Regions from separate parts of the Homo sapiens genome. Here regions 1 and 3 are each linked to region 2. Evidence: promoter capture Hi-C in human tissues and cell types (Jung and others, 2019). All regions are on one chromosome and are shown on one strand. The core of a region is centred on a gene start or on the middle of the fragment in contact, and the rest is flanking DNA. Distances in the headings are between cores, read along the strand shown.

Region 1 (4,503 bases), core at 334-2,833, 340 kb before region 2:
GAAGTGTTCTGGAATTAGATAGCGGTGATGGTTACACAACCTTGTGAATATACAGACATGAGCCACATAATGATGTTTCAGTCAACAGACCGCATATATGACAGTGGTCCTATAACACAGTGGTCCCCAACCTTTTTGGCACCAGGGACTGGTTTCATGGAAGACAATTTTTCCATGGACTGGGGGTGATGGGGGGATGGTTTCAGGATGAAACTGTTCCACCTCAGATCATCAGGCATTAGTTAGATTCTTGGAAGGAGTGCGCAACCTAGATCCCTAGCATGTGCAGTTCACAATAGGGTTCACACTCCTATTAGAATCTAATGTCACCACTGATCTGACAAGAGGCAGAGCTCAGATGGTAATGTTTGCTCACCTGCTGCTCACCTCCTGCTGTGCTACTGGGTTCCTAACTGGCCACAGCCCTGGGGTTTGGGGATCCCCGCTATAAGATTATAATACCATATTTTTACTGTACCTTTTCTATGTTTAGATACACTAATACTTATCATTGTGTTAAAGTTGCCTATAGTATTTAGTACAGTTAGATGCTGTACAGGTTTGTAGCCTGAGATCAGTAGGTTACACCATATAGCCTAGATATGTAGTAGGCTGTCCCGTCTAGGTTTGTGTAATTATACTCTATGATGTTTGCATGACGCATTTCTCAGAACCTATCCTTGTTGTTAAGTGACGCACAGGTACTAACAACTACTGAACTGTATGCTGTAAAATGATGAATTTCATGATATGTGAATTGTATCTCAATAGAAAAGAGCATTTATAAAGTTTTTGTTGCTAAATTTATTTACTTTCGGTAAATTTTCTTTTAAAAGATGTCTATGTTTTACTGTCTTCGTGGTGCTGGGACATAACTGACATCTGAAGCCTTGAATGCCTCTCTTTGCAAACTCATTTGTTACTACTCAGTTACCATCTCACCTCCAATACCCAACTGCATACCAAACCTCTAGCCATTACTAGAACACATACTCTGAGCTCTGCCATACTTTAGCGCCTGCACACATGCTGTTTCTTCTGCTCAGAAACTTTTGTGCCTTCTGTCCATCCCATCCAAGCCTGTTTTTCAATGCCCAACACAAATGTCACTGGTACCCTGAAACTTCAACTCCTCCTTGCCCCATCTCAGAAAATGTAACTTTCTGTATTCTTCTCTCTGTATATTCCTCTAAAGTGGTATTTCTTATACTATACCATAATGACCTGGTCCCATATTTGTCCTCTTCTTCCCTCTTCATCCCAGACTGGGACCACAAGGAGGTAGAACTTTTTCTGTTTTTTTTTTTTTTTGAGACAGAGTCTTGCTCTGTCGCCAGGCTGGAGTGCAATGGCACGATCTCGGCTCACTGCAACCTCTGCCTCCCGGGTTCAAGTGATTCTCCTACCTCAGCCTCCCCAGTAGCTGGGATTTCAGGCGCACATCACCATGCCCAGCTAATTTTTGTATTTTTAGTAGAGACGGGATTTCACCATGTTGACCGGGATGGTCTCGATCTCTTGTCCTCGTGATCCGCCCGTCTCAGCCTCCCAAAGTGTTGGGATTACGGCCATGAGCCACTGCGCCCGGCCGGAGGTACAACTTTCTTAGTCAATCTTGAGCACCAGTGTAGTGCTTAGAATCGGGTAGTGAGAGAAGCTAACATTTACTGAATGCCTAAGAAGTCCAGGGCACATAACAGTCTTCACAACCATCCTGTGAAGTACGTATTACCCTATCCATTTTACAGATAAAGAAACTTGAGTTTCAAGAAAGGTATACCTAAGGTCATTCAACTTGTTAAATGATGGAATGGAGGAGTTGAGACCAGATTGGACTTCTGCCTCTTTTTTTTTTTTTTTTTTTTTTGAGACAGGCTGGAGTGCAGTGGTGTGATCTCAGCTCACTGCAAGCTCTGCCTCCCAGGTTCACGCCATTCTCCTGCCTCAGCCTCCCAAGTAGCTGGGACTACAGGCGCCTGCCACCACGCCCGGCTAATTTTTTCTACTTTTAGTAGAGACGGGGTTTCACCGTGTTAGCCAGGATGGTCTCAATCTCCTGACCTCGTGATCTGCCCACCTCGGCCTCCCAAAGTGCTGGGATTACAGGCGTGAGCGACCGCGCCCAGCCGAACTTCTGCCTCTTAAATCCAGGGTTCTCCCTGTCAGTACAGTGAGGTGGTAACTAGCAAAAGCTATGAGATATGACTGCCTGGGTACATATCCCAGCTCTTTCACTTATCTTTGTGGCTTTACGCAAATTACTTAACCTCTTTATGATTGTTTCTTCATTTGTAAAAGGAAGATAATAACAGTGCCTATATATAGGGTTTTTATGAAGAATAAATGAGATAGTATATATAAAGCACTTAGAACAGTATCTGGCACATACTAGGTGCTCAATAAATGTTAGCGATGACATTTATTACTGTCCCACATTGAGCTGGTGTTTGTTAAACACTGGATGACTGGATAAAATGTACATCTTTCATGCAGAGATTGCTCGATTATCCATTTCACTGATTCAGGATCAGAGTCTCTTAAGAATCCAGAGAGGGGATGTTGAAGCCCTAAGAAGTAAAAACACTAAAATGATAACATTTTGACCTTTTGAAAACTCTTTGAAGTGGCAATGGCCACAAAATTGAGCGGAAACCAAACATATTCAGCCCCATTTCCAGATAAATTGGATTTGCTAAACCACTCAGAATAACAAGAGCAAGAATTAGATGTTCAGCTAAGCTCTAGCTTCTGATCCTAGATGGTGGCAATAACAACGATAGTATTAATGATAATAGCAGAAACTCTTAATATGTGTGAGGCATTCTTCTAAATGCTTTACATATATTAATTTAATGTTCATCGGAGCAGATTCTCCTACTGTATCCAAGAGATCAGAAATTCAGAGCAAAAAGCAGATTGCTGCCTGATAGCAGATCCACTCTAGGAATGGGGAGATTTTCTCATAAATCTAATGACTGGTGAAAGTGACAAGAGGTTAGTCCACTCAGTGTTGGAAAGGACAAGATCCTAGAAAGTGGAAATGCTCCACTATTGCTTTAGGGGGAACAGCCTGGCTACAACTGGGCAGACTTTCTATTACTAACATCAGGATAATAGGGAAGCTCCTGCCAATGCTGCATAGAACTAAGAACACTTAGCAGTGATGGCTGACTTCCAACTGAGCCATTAAGGTAAGTGTAGAAGAAAGCTCCAGGTAGAAATATCTTTGGGAACTCAGAGAACACACTGAGTGTTTGAAGCTGGTACTTAATCTATTATTGAACTCAGAGTTTGCCATTCTGGGGCCAATTTGAGTCCACTTATGACACCTCCCACAGCACTGCTCATTTCTGTTAACTGGGCTTCACAGAGGGTGAGAAGGGCAGCAATCAGATCATATAATTGGGCCTCATTGTAATAAAATGTTGATTTCTGTTGTCCTTGGACTTCCTTCCAGCCACAATCACTCTATGATCTTGTCTGAGATTCTTTTTCCTTTCTCTCTCCATTTTGCTGACTGTAATGGAATAATAGCAGAAGCTCTCAATCTGTATGAGGAATATATATGAAGAATGTGTAACATTCACTGTGTTTCCTAATAGATGAATTATCTAAAGGACACCTCTTAAGAAGAGATGAGATGGAGCCAACTGTCAGAAAAAAAAATGGGTGAAGAAAGTTTCAAGGAGAAGACTCCACAGAGCAGAATGGGAAAGATGGCCAGGAGAAAAGTGAGATAATAAAAGGAAAAGCAGTCCCTGACACAGAAGGTACTCAACAGCTATTTGCTGACTGAAAGAATAAACACTAATAAGAGAATGAAATACCAGGATTATAAAGAGGGAACAAAGATATTTTCCCATCTACTTTGTTGTTACCCCACCCAGGATATATTTAGGTTGGTGCAAAAGTAATTGCGGTTTTTGAATCGTTAATAGATTAACATCTAATTTATGTATTGTTTACATACATACAAATACAAACTACAACCATATATGATACATTTAAAGTAATACGCTAGGCACAGTGGTGCATATCTATAGTCCCAGCTGAGGTGGGAAGACTGCTTGAGCATAGGAGTTCAAGTCCCCTTGGGCAACATAGCAAGACCCTGTCTCTAAACAAAGAAAACAAAAAAAGTGAAGTAATTAATGCCAAACATTGCAATCAGGGTTTGGTGCACTTGAAATACACAAATGAGTGTTTTTACATGCTGAAGACACAGCAACCAACAACTGGGGCTAAAGTGCTGCATTCCTAAAGTTAACCCACAGAGCCTATCATGCCATGCCAAAGTTCACTGCTCCGGCTCCAAACCGGGGACTTTCCTTTCCTATTTCCTCTCCCTAACAGCTTAGAGCTACTGGACTCCATCCTTGAACTCCTCTGTTTACTAAAAATGTTCTTTATAAGCTATGAAATCTGGATTTGAGGTCTGGTTTCTTACTTCAACTTTGCAACTCATTTCCCACCCCGAGTTCACACAATCTCAAAATGTTCATG
Region 2 (4,534 bases), core at 2,035-4,534:
AGTCTGCTATCTGCAAAGACAGTAAATGCAGGCAAGTAACTATTTTACAGGATTTTGTATACAGATAGAGGATACATAACGAAATGTCATAAAACTTTAAAGCTCTATTCTGGCTAGTTAGGAGACTCATGGAAAAGAGGGCATAAGAGTTGGATACTGAGAAAATGGCAGTTTTGACAGATGAAAAGCCACAGAGCAGCAGTTCCAAAGTAGAATGAGAGTATGAACAAAAGTGCAGAGATGGTAAAGGATAAGGCATTTTGGAAAATGGCAAGTACCATAATTCACTTTGGATGGAGCATCCTCAGTTTGCACTGAGGGTCTGGACAGAAACTCAGGTCTTCTAATTCCCAGTAACAGTGCTGGTGGTAGTGCTTGCTCAGTCGTTGTCTCTTTTCTCACAGCAAGGTCAACAGTCCCAAAATTCAAAAATAAAAAAAAATCTACCTCCAGTGTTCCTGCCGCATCGTGACAAGCTCTTTCGGGTTCCAGGTCCAGGTCTTGAAAATCTGGAAATCTGGAGTCCATGGCTGTGGCTACACTGAAAGTTATCTGCTCCAACTATTGCAGAACACTGTAGTGAAATCTTTTCAACCTCCAATCCTGGACATCTCATGTTTTGCCACAGAATTTCAAGCTTTGAGTTCCAGTTGTTTTTTTTCCCTCCTTTCTGCTGAGGAAAGCATCTTATCACCACAGTCTTAAGTCTTTTGAGGTACATCCGGATTTAATTACAAAAGAGCAAAAAGACCAACACTTTTTTTTCTCCAAGTCATTTCTCTGGAAGTGAGATTATCTGTCTCTGCCCTTTAGGAAAAGGGAATAGTCAATTGATTTTTTCAGACATTTGAATGAAATAGCATAACTGGCTAACATCTAATCAGACAAAATACACTTAAATGTGTTTGTGTTCACTTGCTTAGGGCTGTACCACTTGGTGAGCACCACTCCACAAAACGAAAATGTTTGAAATCCAATTGTTCAAACATTTTTATAGTGTTTGTTGGATAATGGCCTGAAATTTGATAAAAGCAGCTGACAACTAACAAAGAAGCAAAAACTGGCATCTTGGACATCCTAGTATTACACTTGCAAGCAATTAGAACACAAGGAGGGCCAAGGAAAAAGTTTAGCTTTGAATCACTTCCAAATCTACTGATTTTGAGGTTCCGCAGTAGTTCTAACAAAACTTTTCAGACAATGTTAACTTTCGATTAAGAAAGAAAAAAACCCCAAACATCTTCAGGAATTCCATGCCAGGTTCAGTCTCTTCCAGTGAGCCCGCTTGCTAAAAGTCCACGTGCACCATTAATTAGCTGGGCTGGCAGCACCATGTAAAAAGAAGCCTATTCACCACCAACCACACAGCCTAGACATGTAAAGTAGGATCAAGTAATGGATGACAACCATGGTCGTGGAATATGGTCAATGAGAGTCAGAAAAGTACAGGCACCAGTACAAGCAGCAGATAACAGAGTTGACGGGCCAAAGGATAAAATAGGCTTATTTAAATAGGATGCTACAGAACACATCCACTCCTAATTGTAGCTGCTTTACACTGGGTGCCATTGTACCATATGCATCAGCCACCCTTCAGGCACCCCATGGTGAAAGAAAAGGATTCAGAATAGAAGCCAAGCAGGGGACTGTTGTTAACCCCGAATATCCATTATGCATAGAAACAGCTCACATATCCCAGGGACTCAAACAGGGCTTCAAAATGGTTGTGAAGGGTCCCAAATGACATCTAGGCCTCAGTTTCCTCTCTGTAGCATGAAGAAATTGTGATTCTTAACTCTTCTGGGTCACAGCCCCCTTGGAAAACTTGCTAGCGATGGATCATCATTCCCCTAAAACGCACATTCCCACAAATTCCCATCATTCCCCCAAACCGCACATTCCCACAATTTCAGGAAGTTTGGGGATCCCCAACTCCAATCCAAGGTTCCCAGGTTCAAAACCCAAGGATTGGGGAACTGCTAAGTTTTCTTACAACTCAAAAAAAATTATAAACAATAACCATCCTTTACGTACACCCACGCTTTATAGTTTACAAAGCGATTTCAACCCCACACACATTGATAGGCAGAGGAGGAAACTGAGGCGCAGACAAATTACAGAGTGACTCGCCTAAGGTCACTCCGCCAACTGGTGGCTAGGCCCGGAAGAAAACCCAGCTCTTCCGACTCCGGAGCTCGTCTCCCCACCCCGGGGCTGCCGCCAGAGCTCCCGCCCCTCACTAAGGCGGCATAAGGAGGAAAAGGCAAAGTAGAAATCCCACAACCAACCATCCTCCGGCCCCCTCCTGCCCCCCCAACTGGGTCCTTGCAGGCCCCGAAGGGTGGCGCCAGGCCTCCAAGCCGGCCCCGGCCACCCCCGCCTCCCCGGCCGCTCCAAATCCCGCGGCCGCTGCCGCCGCCGCCTCCCCCGGAGCGGGGCGGAGCAGCTGCCCGCCGCCGCCGACCACCCGGACGACTCCTCGTCGAATCGCAAACGCATAGGCCGCCGCCCGAGTTCTGCGTACGAGAAGAAAGACGCGGCGCGAGCGCCAACGGCCACCGGGCGCGCGCCGCGGCGGCCGGGCCTGCGCCCCAAGAGCTGGATGCCAGAGCAGGAGAAAGAGCCGCCAACCGATCGCTCGATCGACCGCACGCCCGTTCCTTCGCCCTACCAGACCCGGGAGGGGGGGAGGGCGCGCCAGGGCTTCTTCGATTTAGGGGCCTGACTCCCCGGCGACGAGACAAGATGGCTCCTCCGGTCCGCACCGCAGCTACCGTCCCGGCTGCGTCGCTCGGCCCGCCCCCGGTACTGTTTCTTTAAATGGCGGAGAGGGTCAGGAAAGCAGGAAGAGAGGCGCACGCTGTCACGTGACAGGGGCGGGACCGGCCAACCAAGATCCGGTCACATGGGGACACGCAGCCCGCCAATCAGGAGGCTGTACATCAGGGCGGGGGCGGGAGGAGCTGCAGCTTTGTGATTGGCTGAATGCTCCGCGGAGGCCTCGGGGGCTTGGGGCGTCGGGGAGTGTGCGAGGTGGCCGGGGCTGTGTGCACTATCGGAGACAAAGCGGTGGCTGTGGTGTCTGTGACGGCGGCGGCAGAGCAGCTCTAAACGCCGAATTTCGTGTTGCTGAATCCTGTCACCATCTCAACTAGCGCGGCGCGCGGGCGGCGCGCGGGCGGCGGCGGAGGCAGCGGCGGCGGCGGCGGAGGCGGCAGCAGCACATGGTTCCAAGAGCGCTCTGCGGCTGTTGGGTTCCAATTCCGCGGGGAGGGACAAAGGCAGTTGTGAGATCCGGGTAGTGCCCGGTCAGGTGGTGCGCTCGCCACTGCCCTCGATCCGGTCCTTGGAAGCCGGGAGTAGCTCCTCTTCGTGGGGAGGCGGCCACGGGACCGAGGCCCGGGAAGGGCCTGGGAGGCTGAGGCTGTTGTCTGAGGGACGTGGGGGCGGGGCGCGGCCTGCCCGAGGTGCTGTGGGCGGGTCATTTGTGAGGTGTTTATGTGGGCCAAGTGTGAGGTAATCTGACCACCACCCTGAACTGGGTTTGGTCCGGCTTTGAAAAAAGAAATCGTGAGTGCCTAGGAGCTTTTTCACTTGGGAGGTGGTGAAGCTGCAACTTGCGCCATATAACACTCCGTCGACATCTTGGTCTCCGGTCTTGGGCCTGTTTAAGAATCCTGGCATCACGTGTGGCGAAGACATGGCTGATCAGTTTTCTGACAGAAGTGGGTAAATTTCCGCGTTGGTAAATTTCCTGACAGGAAATTTCGGGGAACCAAAAAAGGCTGGAAGAACATGAAGATGGAGCAGTCATAAACCACCCACTCAAGGACCATCTCCTTCAGGACCATCCACACGAGACTCAGATTGTCTGAATTGAGCTATCGCAACTTAATGCTAAAAGCTCCTTAAAGCTACAGATTTATGACATAGTTCCTTCCAAAATATTACATCATAAATCATTGAGAAGATTAAAAAAAAACACTTGAAGAAATTGTAGTTTTAAACATCTCTGCATATATTTTGGATAGCTACTAGGTTACTTTAACTGTCATTAAGGAGCACAGACTTACTGAAGCTTTACTGGACAGAATCCTGGGAAATCGATATCATTATAAGGTTATATTTCCCAGTTAGCGGGTGAAGGGCTGGAGACCTTATTGCAGTCATGGCTTTCACAAATTACAGCAGTCTGAATCGAGCTCAGCTAACCTTTGAATATCTGCACACAAATTCGTAAGTATCCTCTAGGTGCCACTGAGGTAACCAGTAACTCGTTCCTTGATATTATATGGAAATCGTTTCCCCAGAAAATTTTGCTTTTTCACTTTTTGAGATGTATCCCACTGGAGTGAAATGTGTCACTGGATATCTTGAGCTCTGTATTGAAGAACTGAGATCAGTGAAATACTTGTTGCTAATCCAGAAGAATCTGATTTTTGTTTATTGGATCAAAATTTTCTAAATGCAAACTTTAGTTATTTGAAGTCAATATGTTGAGTTGTTTCATTCAAGTGTTTATAGGAATCCAACA
Region 3 (4,465 bases), core at 735-3,234, 280 kb before region 2:
CGATTCTCCTTGGGTATAACCTCCGCTGGCTTCTGCCCGGCAGAACCGATGGTAAAGGACTAAGTGAGAAGGAGATTTAGGGAGACCACCCTCCTCTCAGGACCAGGGGCCAGGAGAGATGGAGAGGGGAACTCGGAGACCAACTCACCGAAACAGGTCTCTGGAGGTGAAGTAAGCCGGGACTGACAAGTAACTCCCCATCTTCTTCCCACACCAGATAGACAGGCTCAGCTGCAAATCCGTCTGTGACTGCCTCAGGCCGGCTGTAGATGGCCACCATGACAGGCCCGGGGCTCCCGGCACCTCTGGCTGCAGGCAGGCTGCCCTGAGCTCACCTCTCCCTCCGGAGCAGCTGCGGGAGCCTGAGGACTCCAGGCCACTTGGCCCCCAGCAGATTCCCACAGGGGCTCATGGCTGGGATGGCTCCTCCCTAGTTCTCAGAAGCTCAGGCGGCCCCTCTGGACTCCGAGAAAACGACCTCTCTGTGGAGGCTACACACACACTGGCATTCTTGAGCAGGGGCCGGTGACTAGCTAAGAAAGAAGCGCTGCTGTCAAGTTAGCCTTCTTCTTCAGTCCCACCCCTGAATGAGGGAGGGAGGGAGGAAGAGGAGGGGCTCCCGCAGAACCGAGGTGTGTGGTTGGAGCAGCTGTTAGGAAACAGACCTTGCAGGCAAGGGGTGGAGCTGGGCTGGATCGAGGCTGCAGGCAGGCGCTGCAGACAATAACTGGGACCAATTGAGCGTCCATCCTGAGCTCAGGGAAGGGCAAGGCAGGATAGAGTGTGAACATATCTGGCCCCAGATGTCCTCAAGCAGAGGAGCTGCCTACAGGACAGTAATTCTGCTTGGAGGTGGAAAAAAAAAAAAAGCAGAGGATGCCAGGTCCAGGAAGAGCCACACCAGACGGGGGGACCTCTGGTAGGAGAGACAGGTCCAGAGAGCCATCCTAGCTCTGAGCTGCCATCTGTTCTGTCCTGGCACTAGGGCTCCCATTCATTCCCTCCCTCTGCCTGTCCTGGGGACAGCCTCAAGAGCTGACCAATGGGAGGTGCCACTTCCACTCCAGGGCAGGGCTGTGTTGCAAATAAGGAAACAAGGCCCAGAGTATTAACCTACACCTGATGTGTCTCCATGTGGCAAACACTATATGCACTCTTTTATTTCTCTGAGACAGGAATTATTCCCACTCTACAGACAAGAAAAGTGAGGTACAGAGAGATTAGGTAACTCACTCAAGGTCAAAAAGGGAGTCAGTGGCAGGGCTGGAATTTAAATGTAGGCTCATGTGACTCTAGAGCTGGAGCTCTCCCACTACCAGGCTTCATTCTGGCTCTTTAAGGAGAAAAATCTTTTCCAAAGCTCTCTGCAAATAGGATGGAGCCCAGGTTACTCTCATTCACTCACTATTCACTGAGTGTTCACATGCAGAACACCATCCATTGGCCTCAGTGGACAGTGGAGCTTCTTCTACTTGTCCTGTGATAACCATGCTTTTCAAACTGAAAAATGGGGCATGAGGGAGAAAAAGGCCTGGGGTGCCAAAAGGGATTGATAAGCCTAGGTATCTGGAATGGGAGCCCACCTGAACAGCCCCCAGTTGTGACGATGACCAAACCAGAGCCTACCATGTAGAAAGCCCTTGTCTCCCTGCCTGCAGGATTGTAAAGGAAAAAGCAAGGCTGCTGGAGGAAACCAGAACACTCAGATCTCACTACTGGATTTGGGGCAGTGACATCAGCTCTCCCTTACCAGGCACACACCGCTCACCATTGTAAAGAGCCAGAAGTCACCGTGCAGCTTCTATCTCTTACTGTGAACCATGGCAGGAAAGTCTGATAAAGATGGTAGATGGGGTTACAAGGGAGCCTTTTCCCATTCCACCAACTGGACACAGGGACAACAATGCATGTGATAAGAGCACATGGGTTTGAATACTGTTAAGAAGCTACCATTTATTGAGCAGTTAATATCTTCTAGGCCCTGTGTTAAGTGCTTAGCATTTATTATCCATCATGTTTAAATTGCCAGTAAAAGGAGGAAACGTCATCAGCCTCATTTAACAGATTAGGAAATAGGTTCTGAGGGGTTATGTCACTATTCTCAAGACAAATAGCTGATAAGTGGTGAGGGTGTTTTTTTTTTTTGTTTTTTTTTTTTTGAGTCAGGGTCTCTCTCTGTCACTCAGGCTGGAGTGCGGTGATGCCATCATGGCTCACTACAATCTTGACCTCGACCTTCTGGACTCAAGTGATCCTCTCACCTCAGCCTCCAGAGTAGCTGGGACTACAGATGCGTGCCATCACACCCAGCTGTGAGGCTGAGTTTCAAACCTGGTACATATGGCTCTAGAGCACAGGTCAAGGCACTTTTTCTGTAAAGGGCCAGAGAGCAAATATCTTAGGCTCTGCAGGCCATACAGACTGTCGTGGCCACTCAATTGTGTCATTATAGGGCAAAAGCAGCCATATATAAAACATAAACTAAGGGACATGGCTATGTTCCAACAGATATTTACTTATGGAAAGATTTTTTTCTTTTTTTTTTTTTTCTTTTGAGATTCAGTCTCACACTGTTGCCCTGGCTAAAGTGCAGTGGTATAAACATGGTTCATTGTAGTCTCAACCACCTAAGCTCAAGTGATCCTCCTACCTAAGCCTCCAGTGCATCCTGGGACCACACGTGCTGGCCACCATACCCAGCGTGTGTGTGTGTGTGTGTGTGTGTGTGTGTGTGCGTGCGTGCGTGTGTCGGAGTCTCGCTCTGTTGCCCAGGCTGCAGTGTAGTGTCGCGATCTTGGCTCACTGCAACCTCCGCCTCCCAGGTTCAAGCAATTCTCTTGTCTCAGCCTCCCAAGTAGCTGGGACTACAGGCGCATGCCACCATGCTCGGCTAATTTTTGTGTTTTTAGTACAGACAGGGTTTCACCATATTGGTCAGGCTGGTCTTGAACTCCTGACCTCAGGTGATCCACTTGCCTCGGCCTCCCAAAGTGCTGAGATTATAGGTGTGAGCCACTGCGCCCGGCCCTGGCTTATTTTTTTTTATTTTTTGTAGAGACAGGGTCTCACTTTGTTGCCCAGGCTGGGACACTGATATTTGAGTTTCATGTAATTTCCACATGTCACAAAGCATTCTTTTGCTTTTTTTCCCCTAACCATTAAAAATCACAGGTCATATAGGCCAGGCATAGTGGCTCATGCCTATAATCCCAGCATTCGAGAGGCCAAGGAGGGAGGACTGCTTGAAGCCAGAAGTTTGAGACCAGCCTGGGTAACAAACCAAGACCCTATCTCTACTAAAAAAATCAGTCAATCAGGCCAGTCATGGTGGCTCACGCCTGTAATCCCAGCACTTTGGAAGGCTGAGGCGGGCAGATCACCTGAGGTTGGAAGTTCGAGACTAGCCTGACCAACATGGAGAAACCCTGTCTCTACTAAAAATACAAAAATTAGCCAGGCGTGGTGGCACATGCCTGTAATCCCAGCTACTCGAGAGGCTGAGACAGGAGAATCGCTTGAACCCAGGAGGCAGAGGTTGCGGTGAGCTGAGTTCGTGCCATTGCATTCCAGCCTGGGCAACAAGAGTGAAACTCTGTCTCAAAAAGAAAAAAAAAATCAATCAATCACAGGCCGTATTAAAATAGGCAATGGGCCATAGCTTGCCGGCCTCTGTTCTAGAACCACAGAGCTCAACCACTCTGTTTACTACCTCTAATAGTGAAGAACAGCTCTTGGTGTTTGTGCAGAGCTCAGCCATATCTATCTATCTATACCACGAAGACACCACACTCTAGCCCCAGAGGCAGCCAGAAGAAGGAAGCACTGAACAGGTGCTCACCCTGTATTAAACATTGCTTGCAGCACTACTTGTATGAATGAATTTTAACCCCCACTATTCCACAGTGCTGTGATTTTTCTCTTTACAGATAAAGCAACTGAGGTACAGGGAGGTTAAATCACTTGCCTGAGGTCACTCAGCTGTAAATGTGAGAAGTGAAGCCAGGATTTGAACCCAGACTAGACATTATAGACAACGTTCTACCATGCTATACCAAAGCTCAGCCTGGGCCCAGAGCCAGACTGTCTGGGTTTGAATGCGACAATGCACTGCATGTAAGCCCTTGGCACAAAGTCTGGGACACATTAAAGGTTGATAAATGTTAGCCATTAATATCATTAAGACTATTGTTACAACTACTGTGGGCTAGCTATGTGGCCTTTAGCAAGTCACTCTCTCTGTCTGGGCCTTGGTTAGGTCTCTAAATAGCTCCCAGCATCAACATTTTTCACCCCTATGAGGTTGCAGAGGGCTCTCTATTTTCCTTGGGTCTCAAGTTGAGTTTAAACTCTTGAGCAGGAGGTCAGGATCCTAGCCGAGGGGACACACAAGGGCCACAGAGGAGGTGAGGTGGGCTGGAAGTGGGGAAATAACATACGGGATACTGAAAGGGCTGCCCAGCTGGAG

What was found. The method cuts DNA at HindIII sites, captures the fragments that hold promoters and counts their contacts. A contact is called where the count stands out against the background at its distance.
Region 1: a contact is called between a fragment that was not itself captured here and the fragment with the promoter of MORC2 in region 2, in 1 of the 25 tissues and cell types used here (dorsolateral prefrontal cortex).
Region 3: a contact is called between a fragment that was not itself captured here and the fragment with the promoter of MORC2 in region 2, in 1 of the 25 tissues and cell types used here (mesendoderm cells).

What each region holds. Positions count from the first base shown.
Region 1 is chr22:31,300,873-31,305,375 of GRCh38, reverse strand. LOC105372997 (a long non-coding RNA gene) reads left to right here and starts at 2,590. Exons shown (of 4, transcript XR_001755493.3): 1 at 2,590-3,770. The HindIII fragment of the contact is 8,851 bases long and covers 1-4,503 here.
Region 2 is chr22:30,967,524-30,972,057 of GRCh38, reverse strand. It overlaps MORC2 (MORC family CW-type zinc finger 2), which reads left to right and starts at 3,284. Exons shown (of 26, transcript NM_001303256.3): 1 at 3,284-4,236. The coding sequence starts at 4,169. TUG1 (taurine up-regulated 1) reads right to left here and starts at 2,793. Exons shown (of 3, transcript NM_001396518.1): 1 at 279-2,793. The coding sequence starts at 2,701. The coding sequence ends at 2,240. RefSeq lists a silencer at 2,273-2,522 and an enhancer at 2,553-2,882. The HindIII fragment of the contact is 8,152 bases long and covers 1-4,534 here.
Region 3 is chr22:31,244,453-31,248,917 of GRCh38, reverse strand. The region is part of intron 2 of LIMK2 (LIM domain kinase 2); the gene reads right to left. Among named protein-coding and RNA genes, the nearest start is that of LIMK2, 34 kb to the right of the region's middle. RefSeq lists enhancers at 1-534, 535-1,425. The HindIII fragment of the contact is 8,275 bases long and covers 1-4,465 here.